2 separate regions of the Homo sapiens genome follow, and region 2 is linked to region 1. Evidence: promoter capture Hi-C in 16 types of primary human blood cells and fetal thymus (Javierre and others, 2016). All regions are on one chromosome and are shown on one strand. Each heading gives the region's core, a stretch centred on a gene start or on the middle of the fragment in contact. The rest is flanking DNA. Distances are from core to core; before and after follow the strand shown.

The links. Contacts are between HindIII fragments. The CHiCAGO score rates a contact against its expected background, and 5 or more counts as called.
Region 2: a fragment that was not itself captured here is called in contact with the fragment with the promoter of LAMA5 in region 1 in 5 of 17 cell types (erythroblasts, M1 macrophages, endothelial precursors and 2 more); the score reaches 7.8 in erythroblasts.

Annotation. Positions count from the first base shown.
Region 1 is chr20:62,364,970-62,369,003 of GRCh38, forward strand. It overlaps LAMA5 (laminin subunit alpha 5), which reads right to left and starts at 2,343. Exons shown (of 80, transcript NM_005560.6): 1 at 1,980-2,343. The coding sequence starts at 2,276. RefSeq lists enhancers at 1-449, 1,148-1,847, 3,946-4,034 and a silencer at 2,027-2,466. The HindIII fragment of the contact is 18,996 bases long and covers 1-4,034 here.
Region 2 is chr20:62,637,538-62,641,571 of GRCh38, forward strand. LOC124904949 (a long non-coding RNA gene) reads right to left here. Exons shown (of 2, transcript XR_007067711.1): 2 at 108-3,809. Among named protein-coding and RNA genes, the nearest start is that of SLCO4A1, 2.9 kb to the right of the region's middle. The HindIII fragment of the contact is 4,159 bases long and covers 1-4,034 here.

The DNA of each region.
Region 1 (4,034 bases), core at 1,093-3,592:
ACCGGCCGGCAAGGACTTCTCACACGCCCAATCCGCGGCCAGGGCGGTCAGCAGACCCGCGGCTCTCAGATGAAGGAGGCATCCAAGGTCATACCCGTCCAGCTCACGTCTACCAGCTGATCTTTCTACATATCTGGCAGCCTCAGCGGGCACTCACTGCTCAGAGCTCGAGACTTTGGAAGCGAAGGGTTCACCTCTATTGCTAGACATGAGCTGGGCGAGGCCGGCTGGTTTCTCATCCAAGCTGGCTCTGAGGCATGGAGCACCACAGCCCACAGCTGCCACTGAAACTGTGGCCACTTCCCAGGCTCCTCGGGCCAAGCTCACAGTCTCAGGTGAGGGGGGCCAGCACGCTGTGCCCATTTTAAAGACAGCTTGAGGCTGACAGAGGGAAGCCACACAGCTGAGGCAGAGGAGAGGGGCGTTGACTACAGGCTGGCCCTTTACTCACGAGACGGGGGTAATAAGCCCCCACAGAGGAGACAGATCTGAGAGGGGGCCTGTGGCCCCCAGCCACGCAGCATGGGCAGGCTGTGGGGGGGTGGTCTGAGGTTCACAGGGCACCTGGAGCCTCCCCTGCCAGAACGGCAAAATCTCAGCTGGGGACACTCAGCCAGGCCCTCTGTGGTGAGGTGTGGCAGCAGGTAAGGAGACAGTCACAGGCCCTCCGTCCTGAGACCCGGCCCCTCTGAGTTGACCAGATAAGGGGGCAGCCAGGAGGCACCCAGGTTCCCACAGCTAACCCCCGCTGGACCCTGTTCTGGCTGGGGGGCTCCAAGCAGGTGTCAGCAGCTTTCCAGGGCTCAGATCCCCCATCTGAAGTGTGGGCTTGAGACCTCCTATCTCAGAGGACTGTGCTGGGCTTAAGGAGAGAACGGTGAGCCCAGAAGCCTGGGGAGGCTCCTTCCCCCTCCACCAGGGCCAAGGGGGTGGGGCAGGCAGAGGGGGCGGGCCCAGCCCAGGCTCCTCCATTCATCCCCATAACGTCTTGCTCCAGGGCCCTCTGCCCCCACCCAGCAAATCTCCAGCTACTCGCCCCTGCCCCAGCCTCTCCTTCCGGGAAGGCAGAGGTACCAGGGAGGAGACAGCTCAGGTTACACAGGCCCTCAGGGCCCCTAGACTCTCCCTAAGGTGGGGCTGAGGTGGGGAATGGGCCTAGAGCGGCCGGTTGGGAGCCGTTGGAGCTGACTTTGCTGCTCCTCACCCAAGGCTGACCCCAGGCCCAACCTAAGTCTACAGGGCCCCAAGAGCCTTGGTTTTCAGGTGAGGTGTCCATGCATGGAGTCCACCAACAGAACCCGCCTACAGGTTTAAGGCTTGTTGGGGAGGGGACATGCACCCCAGGGGGTCTTCAGGGCCTGAACCCACATCTCCCAGGGAGACTGAAGCCCCCGGACCCTACCACCTGCTGGGCAGAGATGCTGCCCCTCCTGGGAGCCACGTGTTCCCAGCCCCAGTCAAAACTTCGCAGCTGGCCCTCCCCTACTTTGGAGGTCTCCTCGAGTCCCTAGACTCCTCCGAGAGGGGCTAGTGGGAGCCTCAGGTGGCTGGCCCCTCCCACCCCATCCAGAGGCCAACAGGTTCCAGCCTGTCCCGGGTAGGGCGGAGCTGCGCCCCCTCCCCACCGGCAGCAGGCGGCGGAGGCCAAGTCCCGCCCTCCCCGGGATCCCGGACTTGGGGCCGCCAGGGACTGGGCCCGGCCCCCCTCCCGCCCCGGTCACCGCAGTCGAACTGGACCGGCGCCCAGCCGCCCCCGGGTCCATGCCGGGGACTTTAATTCCGCCTTCCCGGAGGGACGCGAAGTTTCCCGGCCGAGACGGAGCGGCCGGGTCGGGGTGCCTTCTTGGGCCCCCAAAATGCGGAACCAGAGAGTCCGCACCTGGACTCGCCCCGGGCCACGGCGCTCCCCCTGGGGTCGGGCCGGTGTTCCGGGTCCGAGTGCCCCGGGAGGAAGCCCCACGGCCCGCCCCTGCGCTCACCCGGATGGTCTGGTTGGGGTCGCCGCCGGCCACGGGGCCCCCTACCAGCTTGCAGTAAAGGTCCTCGGTGGGGCGCGGGGAGCCGCGCGCCGGGGCCTCCTCTCCGCAGGTCGCGGAGGCGGCGATGCGGGCGCCCTCGGCCAGGTTGAAGTAGGGCGGGTGCAGGCTGAAGCCGCCGCCCGCCTCCTCCCGCGCCCGCGCCGCGCCCAGCAGCGCCAGCCCGACCAGCAGCAGCGGCGCGGGGCCCCGGGGGCCGCGAACACACAGTGCGCTCCCCGCGCAGAGCCGCTTCGCCATCTTCCCGGCTCCGGGCCGCGTCCCCGAGCTCCAGGGACAGCGCGCGCGGCGGGAGCCCGGCGGGTCTGAAGCCAGGCGGCCGGCAGGGCTCGCTCCGCCCGCGGACGTCAGGCCCCGCCCCGGCCCGCCCGAGCGCCCGAGCCCCGAGCCCCGGGGAGAGGTCCGGGGAGGCGGGGTGGGGGGGGGAAGGAGAGAGGAGGGGGAGGGGCGGCCGGGCGGCCTTAACCCTTCGGACCCCGGCCCGGCCGCCTCCCGGAAGGGGCACCTGCTGGCCTCGGGCCAGGCCGTGGGACGACGGCGCCGCCGGGCCCCCAGCCCAGGTCGTAGCTCCGGGTCCCGGGTGGGACCCTAGCGCTCCCCACGACGCCCTGGCCCCCAGAGCGCCCACCAGCTCCTCCCAGCCCAGGGGCCCACTCTTTGTTCCCCTAACTTGGGTGCACCACTCGGCTGCCCCCGCTCCTCCCCCAACAGCGTCCGTCCTGCTGGCTGCGGGAAGGTGCCCTCTGCACCCGCGAATGACCATCTGCAGAGGAACGGGGCAGCCTAGGTGGGAACCCCCTGCTTCCTGGGGCAGCCAGGTCAGGTTCAACTCGGCCTGGCTCCCGCCTGCCCCAGCAGGGCTTAAAAATACTCTCAGATAGGGAAATAGGGGCAGGAGGGACTGGCCTGCAGCTGCAGCCCCCTTTAGAGGACGGGGGCGGTGCTCATGGCCCCACAGCCGCCAAATTGGCTCTTAAGGAGGTCGGGGGCTCTGGTCACAGCTGCTGAGCACCTGCTGGGTGCCTGGAAGCACCTGTGCTCCGGGGCCCGGTGGACTCCACCAGCTCTCTCGGCCTGGCCTCCAACCCGCTGCACAGCCGCGCACGCGTTCCTGCCACGATCGGCGGCTCGAGGACGCCTGGCAAACAGCACAGGACCTAGAGGCCGAGATCAGGTCTTCGTCTGCCTTTGGGTGGCTGCGGCCCTGGGTCTCCTACTTCCCTTGGGCTCCGGGGCCAAATCTGCCTCCAGGGAAGCCCCGAGGGGGTGGCGGCGGGGTGGGGCTGCAGCTGCCGAGCTGGCAGCAAACCCCCATCCCTGAGCCAGGCCAGCTGGGCGGGCCATGGTCCCAGATGGGCTGTGGGGCTCATCTCTCGCTGGGTTCCCTGGACAGTCCCGGGGGGCTGGGTGGGTTTGTGGGGCACTGGCCAGCCGGTTCTGGTGGGGGTTCTGAGCTAGCAGCTGTCCCTGGAGGGTGCACCTCCTTGCACACCTTCCTGGCGCCCTGGCCTCCTGCAAATCTCAAATCCCAAGAGGGTGTATGGCCCTTTCTCTACGGAGTCGGGAGGGCGATGGGACCCTCTCTCCCTCCTCCTACTTTCCGGCCCGGCAATTCTTCCATAACTTCACTATTAGTTCTCCCACCTGGGGGAGGGGGGAGAGGAGGCGGCTCCCCTTGGCAGGAGAAGCTCCAAGTGGGGGAGGGGCTGGCTGGAGAGGGGGCGGAGACATCAAGGAATCTGCAGTCCAGGCGCAGAGTCCGGCTCTGAGCTGCTTTAGATCCCGTGTGAGGCAGAGAGTGGCCTCTGGGCAGTAGCGGGTCCCCAGGTGGGGGCTTGGCCCCAGGCAGTGTGCTCTGGCTCTGGGCTCCCCCTTGACAGCTTGGGGCTCTGACAGCCTGGGGGACTGGAGGTGGAGACTCCTGAGACCCTGAGGGCTTCTTGGGATCCCTGGAGGGTCGGGTGGTTGGAGGGGTGGGATTGCGAGTGGCGGGGCAGG
Region 2 (4,034 bases), core at 759-3,258, 270 kb after region 1:
ATGGGGACAGGGACTGCCCACTTCCATTTGCCAAAGTCTCAGCAAATGAAACATGAGGGAATGAATGCTCAAAGAGGGCTGCAAACAATCGCCAACAAGGTAAATGATTACATTTAACGCTTTTACTGTAAACACTCTCAATGCAATATAATCTTGCTAGTCATGCTGGGTGGGCCGGGATGAGAGTTAGCAGAAGACCTGATGGGTCTGTGCCTCGGCGGGTCCGGACTGCATGCACAGTTGTATTGGAAGCTAAGATAATCACTCACCTAACACGAGGCCCTTCCAGAATGTGAGGTCTCAGCCAAGTGAACCCTGTGAACACCTCCACCCCCAGACCCGCGGGGAGGCTCAGGAGCCAGGCAGACCGAGGCAGTTCCAGAAGCCCTTGGGCTGGCAGACGTTTGCCTCTTTGTAAGTAAGAGTGTATGCAGAAGACCTCACAAGCAGATCACCAGTGAAATTCAGATGACCCTTCTAGAGAGGCTGTGGGCAGCCAAGGCCCCAGGTGTGGACAGGGCTGCTGCTCTCCAGGTGCTGGGGGCCCCAGCATGTCTCTTCCTACAGCTCCATGTGCCTTTGCCACGGAGCCACCGGCATTCAGTGGCCTCTTCCCCACTTGGCTGCTATGTGTCCCCTGGAACTCAGGGCACTCCAGGTGTCCTCAGGTCATGTCTCAGAGCTCAGGGCCATCTCGCCAGGCAGGGAAGTCCAGATTCCAATTTTTTCTACCCCACACCTAATCTCTAACAGCAGGCTCTGAACACACAGGAATCAGTTGGTGGCTTCTAAAGAGAACATGATACCGTCATGTAGCTGCCTGTCCAGACGCTGAAGCCTGTGCTTTCACCGGACCCTAGTGCTTGTGAATGACGACCTCTGTTCTCCTGGGTCAAAACTTCCTTCACCACCGTCAAGAAGGCCACCCTTTGTCGGCGGGTTAAATGCAGTGTTATTTACATATGGTTTATCTGGGCATCTATAATCCCAGGGCGAGAGCCCACCATCCACCAGCATTTTGGAAGAACGCCTGAGACCTGAGACCTGAGACCTGGTGCAATGGAATCAGATTCCCTGGTAGCTGCTTTTAATGGTGACAGATTCTCTGAAACAGAAAAAGATTGAATTGAGTCTGTCTCCCTGGAGTCGTCCTGCTCTGGGAGATGCAGAGGGAGGGCGGCAGGAGGGAGGACAGTGGGAGGCCTCTGTTGGTCAATTGCTAGGCTGCTGTCACCAGATGGTGGATGGCGTTTGTACAGCACTGGCCAAGGGCCCAGCTCAGCAGGGCCAGAGCCTCAGGTCATGTCGCAGGTGAGCAAAGCAGCGTGGATGGAAGACGAAGATCTTCGTCCCACGGAGGGCTTGCTGTGCGCCCCGCAGGACGCAGATCACCGGGAAGAGCAGGAAGCAGAAGCGCAGGAAAGCCAATGCTGTGACTGAGGCGTGGCCAGCAAGCCAGGCCCTCCAGCCACACCCTGCTCCAAAGGGGCTCCGACAGGATGGACTGATGATTTCCAAGAGAGAACATGCTTTTTATCTTCTATGGAATTTTGCTACCAAAGAGCCTCCCAGCTACCTGTGCCCTTCCCTAACCTGACAATCTTAATTCCCCCATGAAACTCCTCCATCGCGGACATTTGGACAACTCCAGGCTGAGTTTTTCCTAAGGCCACTCTGGCCTTGTGCGTCTCTTCTTTGCTAAGCTGTGTGCCAGCCGCCAGCCCACATCTGGGTTGTACCATGATCCTAACTCCTCACCTGAACACAGCATTTAACAGACTGAAACGTGCCACTCTGGAGCTGGGGACTTCAAGCCACATTTCGCCTGCAGCCCGATCGCCTTCAATCTTTAGCAAAATCCTCTTTCTCATGCAAAACAGTGCAGTCGTAACTTTTAAAATATTTTTTAGAAACTTTCTCTAGAGCCTCCACCACATGGCCACAGCCTGAGACTTTGAAATAATGAAACAATTAAATGATGTTTTCATCATTTCTGAGACTTGCCCATTATCACGAAGCTGAAATGGCCATTTTTTTATAAGTCAAGGAAGGACAGGCAGTTTCAAATGAGTTGGCTAAGACATACGCCAAATTCATAGAAAATAGAAATGAACTATGACTACAGAATGGAAGCAACCACAGAAATATTAGCAGGATTTTAAGTATTATCCCAATCAAGTACTAATAGCTAAGTGAGGTCATTTTTTGGATACCATTCCTGGTCAAAGCTAGGAATGATGTGTGTTCCAGGCTGGACCCTCCAGGCAGAGGCACCGGGATCCCACGCTGTTTCTGGGTTGGCCATTAACCTGCCCCTTGACCTGACAGCGTTTCTCTCTCTTCTCTCTCTACACTTCTCTTCTGATCTTTAGATCGATTTTCCTCCAAGTGACAATGTCCATAAAGAGAGAGGGAGGTGGAAATACAGGCTGTCACATTTCAGCTCTTTGAGGTGCCTCTAAAGATGATGTCAGAGAACAGTAAGTGGCCCACAAATGTGCAGCATCTGTTCCGAGCCTCCTGAAGCCGCCCGGACAGGCAGCAGTACGACCCTGCAAGGCCACAGGGGAGCCAGGGGGTTCTCGCTTTCTTTTTCTTTTAATTATTTCCTCTCAAAAAAGAAAAAAAAAAAAGAAAAGAAAGAAAAAAAGCCCTGCTGGGATAGAACTTATTGAGTTCAGAATGTTCCAGGGCACATAATCAGGCTGCCCTTGTTCCAAGACACTGCTGTGCTCTGTAGCTGACCCCCGAGTCCTCTAGGGCAAGAGTAAGGACACAGTCGGCTCCCGAAAGCTGGTGCAGATGGACCCCACCACGCAGGGCCTGGAGTTGGGCCAGACCTGCAGACCCCCTTGATGGCCTGCGGCAGGACCCTTCACCTGGGTCAAGGCCTCCTGGTGCTCCTAGGGGCCTCTTGAGGAGCCTGGGCACCAGCATTTGCCTTTGAGGACAGGACTGAGGGCCTGCATTTTGCACGAATGTACCTGAAATGTTTGCTCTGGATTTACCTTTCCAATGGTGCCTATGCAGGAATCCCAAAGAATGCCTGGTGGGGTCTGAGGCGGGTCTCAGGCCGGGAGCCCTCCACAGGCAGCAATATTTGGCTAGAATTTAATGCCATTTTGTTTCTTTTTATCTATTTTTATGGTGACCTCTTTGTGGTAATTGACACTGACTTTTTAAAAAATAAACTTACCCTTTTAATCAAATGTGTGAATTGTTTAAAGGAAAAACATTGTGTAAATAATGTTTTCAGGGGGTAGAATCCAGACGTGAGTTTTGGAAACAGAGTCCAGTCCTGCTTCTGACATTTGAATTGCTTCTCCAGCATCATCACCAGAAGATGGGCTACCTGTGCTCACAAGCCTCCTGTAACACGGAGCTCACCACCTCTCAAAGGCACCTTCTGTCAGGTCTGCCTGGAAATGCTGCTCCCGCAGACTCCGCACCTGAGGCCAGGTCTGCAGCGAAGCTCATCCACACCTGAGGCCAGGTCTGCAGCGAAGCTCAGCCCCCTTCCTTCACAGGAGAAATACTTCTGGGTGTGCACCTTCCACTCCTGGCAGGGCCGTGAGCCCCTGTGGCAGTGCCTCACCCTCTGGGAGGGACCCTCTCCATCTGGGAACAATGTGGGTACTTTTTTCTCTTAAAGGGCAGTGTCAGGAATGAAAGCAGATACCCAAAAGCAGTGGGTCTCGTGGCCTCGTGTCTGCTTCCAGAAGTGGAGGGCGGCCTGGGACGGCGGGAGCCCTGAGGACACCACCGGGGGGGTCCCGGGACCTGATACGAGTGGGCAGGAGCCCCAAGCCCTGGAGGAAGGAAAACCATTTCATAAATAACTGCATGGGGTTGTGGGCCTTTTCTCACAAGCCGCAGCACCTCCTTCGTCTCTCCACGGTGAACCCGCCCGCCACGCTATGCCACCAGGCCAGGTCCTGCAGCACCGCCTCCGTGGCTAGGACTTCCTCACCAGCCTGGGGCCGTGAGGTGGTCATTTCCCCCCTTACCTGACTTATCTCAGGATTCACACACAC